Linked DNA regions of Homo sapiens: region 1 is linked to region 2. The links are contacts of gene promoters, found by promoter capture Hi-C in human tissues and cell types (Jung and others, 2019). All regions are on one chromosome and are shown on one strand. The core of a region is centred on a gene start or on the middle of the fragment in contact, and the rest is flanking DNA. Distances in the headings are between cores, read along the strand shown. Region 1 holds the start of LGALS1 (galectin 1). Region 2 holds the start of C22orf23 (chromosome 22 open reading frame 23).

Evidence for each region. The method cuts DNA at HindIII sites, captures the fragments that hold promoters and counts their contacts. A contact is called where the count stands out against the background at its distance.
Region 1: a contact is called between the fragment with the promoter of LGALS1 here and the fragment with the promoter of C22orf23 in region 2, in 1 of the 25 tissues and cell types used here (dorsolateral prefrontal cortex).

What each region holds. Positions count from the first base shown.
Region 1 is chr22:37,673,145-37,677,228 of GRCh38, reverse strand. LGALS1 (galectin 1) reads right to left here and starts at 1,593. Exons shown (of 4, transcript NM_002305.4): 1 at 1,518-1,593; 2 at 164-243. The coding sequence starts at 1,526. RefSeq lists silencers at 1-130, 1,651-1,790. The HindIII fragment of the contact is 16,498 bases long and covers 1-4,084 here.
Region 2 is chr22:37,951,357-37,955,335 of GRCh38, reverse strand. It overlaps C22orf23 (chromosome 22 open reading frame 23), which reads left to right and starts at 1,735. Exons shown (of 7, transcript NM_032561.5): 1 at 1,735-1,888; 2 at 2,178-2,289; 3 at 3,814-3,876. The coding sequence starts at 2,187. POLR2F (RNA polymerase II, I and III subunit F) reads right to left here and starts at 1,637. Exons shown (of 5, transcript NM_021974.5): 1 at 1,529-1,637. The coding sequence starts at 1,548. RefSeq lists a silencer at 1,402-1,471. The HindIII fragment of the contact is 12,825 bases long and covers 1-3,979 here.

The sequences.
Region 1 (4,084 bases), core at 344-2,843, 280 kb after region 2:
GCCCAGACCCTGCGGGGGAAGTGAGTCACCCAGAAAACGCAGCATCGGCGGCTGGCCGTTAACCCGCTCCCGGCCAGGGAGGAGATGTGGGCTTGGCCGGCCACGCCCTCCCTGCTGGACCAAGCCCGTCCCTGCCGCCCACCACCCCGACTTCACTTCTCACCTCTTAGCGTCAGGAGCCACCTCGCCTCGCACTCGAAGGCACTCTCCAGGTTTGAGATTCAGGTTGCTGGCGACCAGACCCTGCACAGACAAGCCCCGGCCCAGCCGGGTTAGAGGACAAGGCCTCCACTGCTCGAAGTGTCCGGGGGTGGCTGGGGGTGGGAGTGGGGTTGTTCCCGCCCGGCATCCTCTGACCAAGCCAAGGGGAAGCCTGGGGAAAGGATTGAGCTGTAATTTCCAGCCTCCGATTGTCTATGTGGTCCTGGGAAAGTCCCTATTCCCACCGGGGTTGGCTTCAGTCTGTAACGTGAAGGTTCTAGAAGACAGGCTCTAGAAGATTTTGCAGATTGGCTTGGGAATTTTGGACTCAAGAGTGACTTGGGAGATGGGGTGCTCTGTCCCATCGCAGATGGAGAGGATCAGGCTGGGGAGGGGCCGACACTTGGCCCACCGTCACACTGAATGGAGGGGCCGGCCCCTCTGCTGGAGAGGAAGTGGCTAGGGGCGGGCGACCCCACTATTCTCCTTCAAGCCCCTCTCTGCAAAGAGGCCCAGGGGCTAGAGAGGAGACCCTGAAAAACACGGCCTCTCTGCATTAGGGAGAATAGCCCTGCAGTCGGGCTGTGGCTGGGCTGGCTCAGGGTTAACAAGATTGAGCAAACTGCTGGGCACTGCTGTTCCCTGGCACCCCGAGTGGGTGGGCAAGAGTTAACTGGTTTGAGTGGTTTCTTCTGCCAGAAACTTGAACCCTTTCCCTGGGGCCCGAGGAAGATTCTCACCTCCCTGCCACCCCAACCTCCCAGCTTGGGGGTGGTGGAAGGGAATTTCCCCCGCCCCCCCCGCCACCAGCCTGGACACAACCACCCTCCACCCCCGACCTAGAAGGGCCCATCCTGGGCAGCTTGTCTCGGGTCCTGGCAACTTTTCAGCGTTCTCTGGAGCAGAGGGTAACTCTGCCCTGGCCTGGTGACCGGGACAGCTGCAGGGGGGAGGGGACAGGAGGCTCTTTGGGGTGGAGGAGGGGGAAAGGGATAGTGGCCTGGGTGTCCCCCAGTTGGCCACACCCTTCCCACGCTCACTTCTCAGAGAGCTGCAGAATGTCAACCCTGGGCAGAAATAACTGTGCTTTCAGACCCTGGAGGAATCCAGACAATTATCAATGCAGAGAAGGCCTTGAGGGACCATGGCGCCCACCCCCATTTTACAGATGTGGCCACTGAGGTCCAGAAAAGAGAAGGCACTGGTTCCAGGCCACACAGCTGGGGCTAGAATCTGCTCCCGATCTGCCCAGCTCTCCTCTGGCCATCAGTTCCTGCCCTATCCCCTGGACCTTGGGGGGGGGTCCCCACACTCACACAAGCCATGATTGAGTCCAGGAGGATGTTCCCGGGCAGGCGCACCAGCTGTCAGAAGACTCCACCCGAGAGAGATGGGCCCCCGGACGCTCCCACCCTTTTAACTGGACCGGACCGGGTGAGCCCCGCCCCCTGAAAGTTCAGCCAATTGCAAGTCAGGATAGGGCTGGGGGCCACTGGGGGCGGAGTCCGTGGAATTTTGAAGCCAGTTTTGGAGCAGAGGTGACCAATCAGAGTGGCGAGCTGCTGCCCCCCCTCACCCCGCCGCCCCCGGCCAGAGTCCAAGCTCCACCTCCTATTCTCCTTCATCCCTCTCCACCTCCCCACCAAAATTGTGCTGTGGCAGAGATTGGGGGAAGCCAGTGGAAAATAGTTTGATGATGAGCTAGGCCCACAAGTTGGCGGGAAGGGGCCTGTGGCCAGCAGGCTGGGCTCAGGGGGTGCCCAGAGAAGATGGCTGAGGAGGTGCAGGGTCCTTCAGGGAATCAGAGCTGGGGGAGACCAGGCCACTCCCGGGCAGGGACCAGGGCGTGGCTCCTGCTGCGTGCGCGTCTGCAGAGGGCCACTGACTTAACCACAGGCCCTGGCCCCACCCGGGCCTTCCCCGGAAGCAAGGACTGCGGCTGCTGCAGCGCTCTCTCGCTGGCTCCTCGGGAAGGCTAAAGAAAGGCTGGGCCGGGCGCCAAGCCTGAGGCTGCAGGGCTTGGCTAAGGCCTCGGGCTTGGCCGCGTTCAGGGGCAGGCAGGGGATAGTCAAAGCGCCCTGGCCTGACAGCCTCAGGCCTGAGAGTGTCAAGCTTAGGAGATGGCCCAGGGTGGTCCAGACCAGGAGGGGGTGGGGTCCTGGCTCTGTGCACCCTGTCCTTTCTCTTTTTTATTTTTATTTATTTATATATTTATTTTTGAGATGGAGTCTCGCTCTGTCGCCCAGGCTGGAGTGCAGTGGCGTGATCTCAGCTCACTGCAACCTCTGCCTCCCAGGTTCAACTGATTCTCCTGCCTCAGCCTCCCGAGTAGCTGGGACTACAGGCCCCCACCACCACACCCGGCTAATTTATGTACTTTTAGTAGAGACGGGGTTTCACCACGTTGGCCAGGCTGGTCTCAAACTCCTGACCTCAGTTGATCCACCCGCCTCAGCCTCCCAAAGTAATGGGATTACAGGTGTGAGCCACCATGCCTGGCCACCCTGTCTGCTCTCTTAACATCTCCTCTGAGGCCCGGCACAGCCCTCCCTTCCCTGAGTGTTCAGCAGGTATTTTACTGAGCACCTACTATGTACCTGGCCCTGGGCTCTGAGGATTCAAAGCTGAACCCCTCCCAGTCCCCACTCTCAAGGAGCGCATAGTTGGGGTGGAATCTGACCACAACCACGTTAAGAAGTAGATGATGGGCTGGGCGCAGTGGCTCACGCCGGTAATCCCAGCTCTTTAGGAAGCCGAGGCGGGCGGATCACCTAAGGTTAGGAGTTCGAGACTAGCCTGACCAACACGGAGAAACCCCATCTCTACTAAAAATACAAAATTAGCTGGGCATGGTGGCATATGCCTGTAATCCCTGCTACTCCTGAGGCTGAGGCAGGAGAATCGCTTGAACCCAGGAGGCAGAGGTTGCAGTGATCCGAGATCAGTCTATTGCACTCCAGCCTGGGCAATAAGAGTGAAACTCAGTCTCAATTAAAAAAAATAAAAAATAAAAATAAAAATAAAAAGAAGTAGATGATGATGGCTGTAAGGGAAGCCATGAGAAAGTGCTATGGTGGGCTGGCGGCTGCATGAGTAAAGGAGGTGGGTCGTGAAGGGTAGGCGGAGAAGTGCCTGGCTTTCCACCATGGGCAGAAGCTCCAGAATGAGAAGGCCAGGGCTGGAGAACAGTGTTCCGGGCATGTGGGGGAAAAACGGGGATGAGGCTGGGAAGCCAACAGGACCTGGACCATGGAGGGCCTCATGGGCTGGGCACAGGGCTTGGACATTGTTGTATGGGAGGAGGCTGGGGAGCCAGGGCTAGAGGGAGGGTGAGTACTGAGGCCAGATTTGGGCTCTAGGGAAGATCACTGTGGCAGAGAATTGAGGGTGGGTGGGAGGGGTGCTCACCTTACACTCAGGAACCTGGTGGAGGAAGGGGCGTGGGGAGCACTGGGCAAAATGAGGGGCATGCTGGGGGGTTGTCACGGGGACCTCCTTCTCCACCTGGCCGTCCCCCTTCTGAAACTGCTGGCACCAAAGAGGGACGAAGATGCGGACCAGGAGTGACTCACATCTGGAAGCCAGGCCAACACACCCACCCTGCCTCTCAGGGGCACCTTCCTCCAGATGCCCAAAGCCCACTCTGGTACAGGATGAGAGGGGAGTGTGTAGGGCCGCAAGGCGGACCCAGAGAGGGGATGGGGTTGCACCCCTGTGAGTGCCTTACCCCTCCTTCCAGACCAAGTGGCTGCTTGGAAACCAACCACAGCAGCTTCACTTTTTCCTCCGGGCCTCCCCAAAACCTCAACCATAGGAAGGGCTGGATGGGGCCCAGCCTAGTTCCACTGCCCCTCCCCCATGCCTCCCCTCTCTGCCAGATCAA
Region 2 (3,979 bases), core at 486-2,985:
AACTCCTGGCCTCAGGTGATCCACCCTCCTCGGCCTCCCAAAGTGCTGGGATTAGAGGTGTAAGCCACAGCACCCGGCCCCATCAGCATTTCAACATGTGCTTTTCCTCATCTAAAAAAAAAAAAAAAAAAACCCTTATTTCTCTTCTCTCTCCCCCTATAGCCCTAATTCCATGGTGTCCTTTGAAGCAAAAATGTGTGAAAGAGCTGTCCACCCTCACTATCTTCCTCTCTTCCCATTTTGTCATAATCTCACTCCAAAAAGCCTTTCACCCCAACAGCTCCATCAAAACCACTTTCCAAGCTCATTAATGATCTCCACGTTGCTAAATCCAATGGCCAACTCTCCTTCTCATTTAGCCTGATCTATCAGCTGGCACATTAGGCCACTTGCTCTCCTCACTTGACTCCAAGGACACCTCACCCTCTTGGTGTTCCCCCACCTCCCCGGCTTCTCTTTTCCCCCAAGCACTCAATGTCCAAATGCCCTAATGCTCAGCCACGGGTCATCTCCTCTTCTCTACTGACACTCACTGGGAATGGGGTAGCAATCCCACACGTTTCTTATTTTTATCTTCAGACTAGCTCTCTTTGCACCCACATATCCCACAGGTAATTTTTGGGCTCTATCTTTAAAATAGTAATATATCCAGAATTCAAAACCAGTTCTCACCACCTCTACTCCTACCACCCTACTATAAGCTACTGACTTCTCTCATCTAGATTACTACAAGCAGGCCGGGCACGGTGGCTCACGCCTGTGATCCCAGCACTTTGGGAGGCCGAGGCGGGTGGATCACAAGCTCAGGAGTTCGAGGCCAGTCTGGCCAACATGGTGAAACCCGTCTCTACTAAAACTACAAGCAATTAGCAAGGCGTGGTGGTGCACGCCCATAATCCCAGCTAGTCGGGAGGCTGAGGCAGGAGAATCCCTTGAACCCCGGAGGTGGAGGCTGCAGTGAGCCGAGATCGCGCCACTGCACTCCAGCCTGGGCGACAGAGCAAGACTCTGTTTCAAAAAAAAAAAAAAATTACTGCAAAGGACCGTCCCAGACTTTTATTTAATGCCACCCGGTGGAGCTGCCCCAGACCCTCCTCTGGAGTACTCCTATACTACATACGTCTAGAACTGGGGAAGCTCACGCGACCACCGTTACCTGCTTGCTTGCTTACTTATGGGCCTGTGACCCCTTTTCTAGAAAGTGAGCACGTGGAGAGGCAGGGACGATTGTTCATTCACCTCAATATTCCCACTGCATGATACAGAGCCCGGCTCGCTGGAACATTTGCTGAAGGACACCTTTTCTACGGATCCCCTCTGGACCCTCGAGCCTGGGCCCTCCTGTGCCTCCAGCCGGGGCTGTGCTCCTGGGTCGCCCGCCCTTCCCTTCCTCGGCTCCGCCGGCCCCCTCAGGACCCCAGTCCCCTCAGACATTGCCCCTAGACGCCAGGCTCCTCAGCCGACCCAAGCCTTGCCTCATCCGCCCCTTCCAAGGTTGCCGCAAAGGCCACTCCGCTCCCGCACTCACTTGTCCTCGTTGTCTGACATGACACCCTCGCCTCAGCGACCCCGCTGCGCCCCGGTCCCGCGCGGAGACCCGCAAACAGCGACACTACGACTCGCGCGGCTCCTAGCTTATCTTGCGCCTGCGCCGTAACCCAGAGGAAATCACTTCCGGGAGGCAGGACAGAGCGGGGAAAGTGCGCATGCGCTGACTGGTGTGTGCGCGTTTCTATAGTAGCGAGAGGCGCTAGCTGCCAGCTCCAGCAGCCCAGATCGCGCAGTATTTCTGCGTGGCACCGGTGCGGATGCGGCTGTAAAGCAGTGGTCACCGCCTCCGGGAGCCCACTTCTATGTGGAGAGGGGAGCACCCAGAGAGGGTCTTAGGGTGAAATTTCAATTTTGGCATATCACTCAGTGGGTACTGTTGTGACCATGGCTGTGTTAACACTCCCTCCCGAGGAGACTTCCCTGCCACAGGCGCTGGGTCAGAATGAGGACTGTGTGTGTGTATCTGTGTGTCTGGATGGGAGGTTTGGGCACTGTCGCAATATTAACTGGCGGCATCATTCTCTGGCTCGATCCCCGCTTCCAGACTTCTGGGGGTGTTGGGCGTCGGGGAACAGAGATTAGGGACAGGAGACAGGGGGTGTGTCATTGCGTCTTTCCCTCCTCAGAGTCCTCCCATGGCTTCACAGAAGCAGATGGAGGTAGTGACCAAAGGAACTGGGTTCCGGCGCCGCCCCAAGACCATCACTTACACCCCGGGGACCTGCGAGCTGCTCAGAGGTCAGTCCGTTAAAGCAGCGATCCCAGCCTTTTTGGCACCAGGGACCGGTTTCGTGGAAGACAATTTTTCCACTGACGGAGGTGTGGGGAATGGTTTCGGGATGAAACTGTTCCACCTCAGATCATCAGGTATTAGTTAGATTCTCATAAGGAGCGTGCAACCTAGATCCCTCGCGTGCGCAGTTCACAATAGGGTTCGCGCTCCTATGAGAATCTAAGGCCGTCACTGACCTGAAAGGAGGCGGTGAGGCTCGCTAGCCTGCCGCTCACCTCCTGCTGTGCGGCCCGGTTCCTAACAGGCCAGGGACTGGTACCAGTCCACGGACGGAGGGTTGGGGACCCCTGAGTTAAAGGATGAGAGAAGAATGGTGGTAGTTACCCTCTGTAACTCAGTTCCCCCGTACCTGACCTGTGGCTTAGCACTATTTTCCTTTACAGATAAGGAGCCTGGGGTTCAGAAAGCTTCAAAATTCTACTGCATATGCCTTATTCGGGGGCGGGGCGGGGCGGGGGGGAGGGGAAGGTTCAAGGTGCTACACCTTGCCAAAAGTCAAAGAACTAAAATTTTTAGAGTAGTTAACTCCTATGCATCCTTTAGATCACACTTTCAACTTTCCCGAGGAAGACTTCTGCTCCTCACCACCACAGTAGGATCAACTGTTATGTGCCCTCACACATTTTCCTTCACTGGGCTTAGCACAAGCTGTAGTCAGTTATTTGGTGTCCCATCTATCCCTCCAGATCATGAATTTCATCAGGCAGGAACCGTGCCTGTTTCGGCCCACAATTGTAGCTCCAGCCCCTGAAACATGATGAACAAGTATTCATGTGTTCTTTTACTCAACAACTTTTTTGTTTTTTTCCAACAACAACATTTTTAAGTCTACCATGTGCCTTAGACTCTGTTTTAGGTGCTGGGGATACAGCAGTGAAAGAAAATGAGGTGGCTCAAACCGGTAATCCCAGCACTTTGGGAGGCCAAGGTGGGCAGATCACCTGAGGTTAGGAGTTCACGACCAGCCTGACCAACATGGAGAAACCCAGTCTCTACTAAAAGTACAAAATTAGCCGGGCGTGGTGGCGCATGTCTGTAATCCCAGCTACTTGGGAGGCTGAGGCAGGAGAATTCCTTGAACCCAGGAGGTGGAGATTGCAGTGAGCTGAGGTCGCGCCACTGCACTCCAGCCTGGGCAACAAGATGGAAGCTCCATCTCAAAAAAAAAAAAAAAAAAAAAAAAAAAAAAAAAAAGAGAAAGAGGAAAAAATATTTAACAGAGGGCAGAAATTTTATTAAACCAGCAAAAATTCTTATCATACAGCTAATATAGAAGGATAACAATAAAATAAAATATATAGAATTTTAGGTGGTCGTAAGTGCTATAGAAAAAACGAAGCAGGAAAGATAGAGAAGGCATGCTCAGTGCAGAATGGGGCTAGGATGTAGGGTTTTAAATTTCAGTAGGGTGTCAGGTGAAGGCATCCGCCTGCAGCCCAAGAGGCCTCATAGAATGCTTTGTCGTGCAGTGATGATGAAGGAATCCAAACTGACGAACATCCAGCAGCGCCACATCATGGACATCATGAAAAGTAAGGGGCAGTCCACAGAGGCTTCCTGGACAGAGGGATCTGGGGCCACACTTTTAATGCTTCTCCATGTTAAGGGAGAGAGGACCTCATATAAAAAAAACAA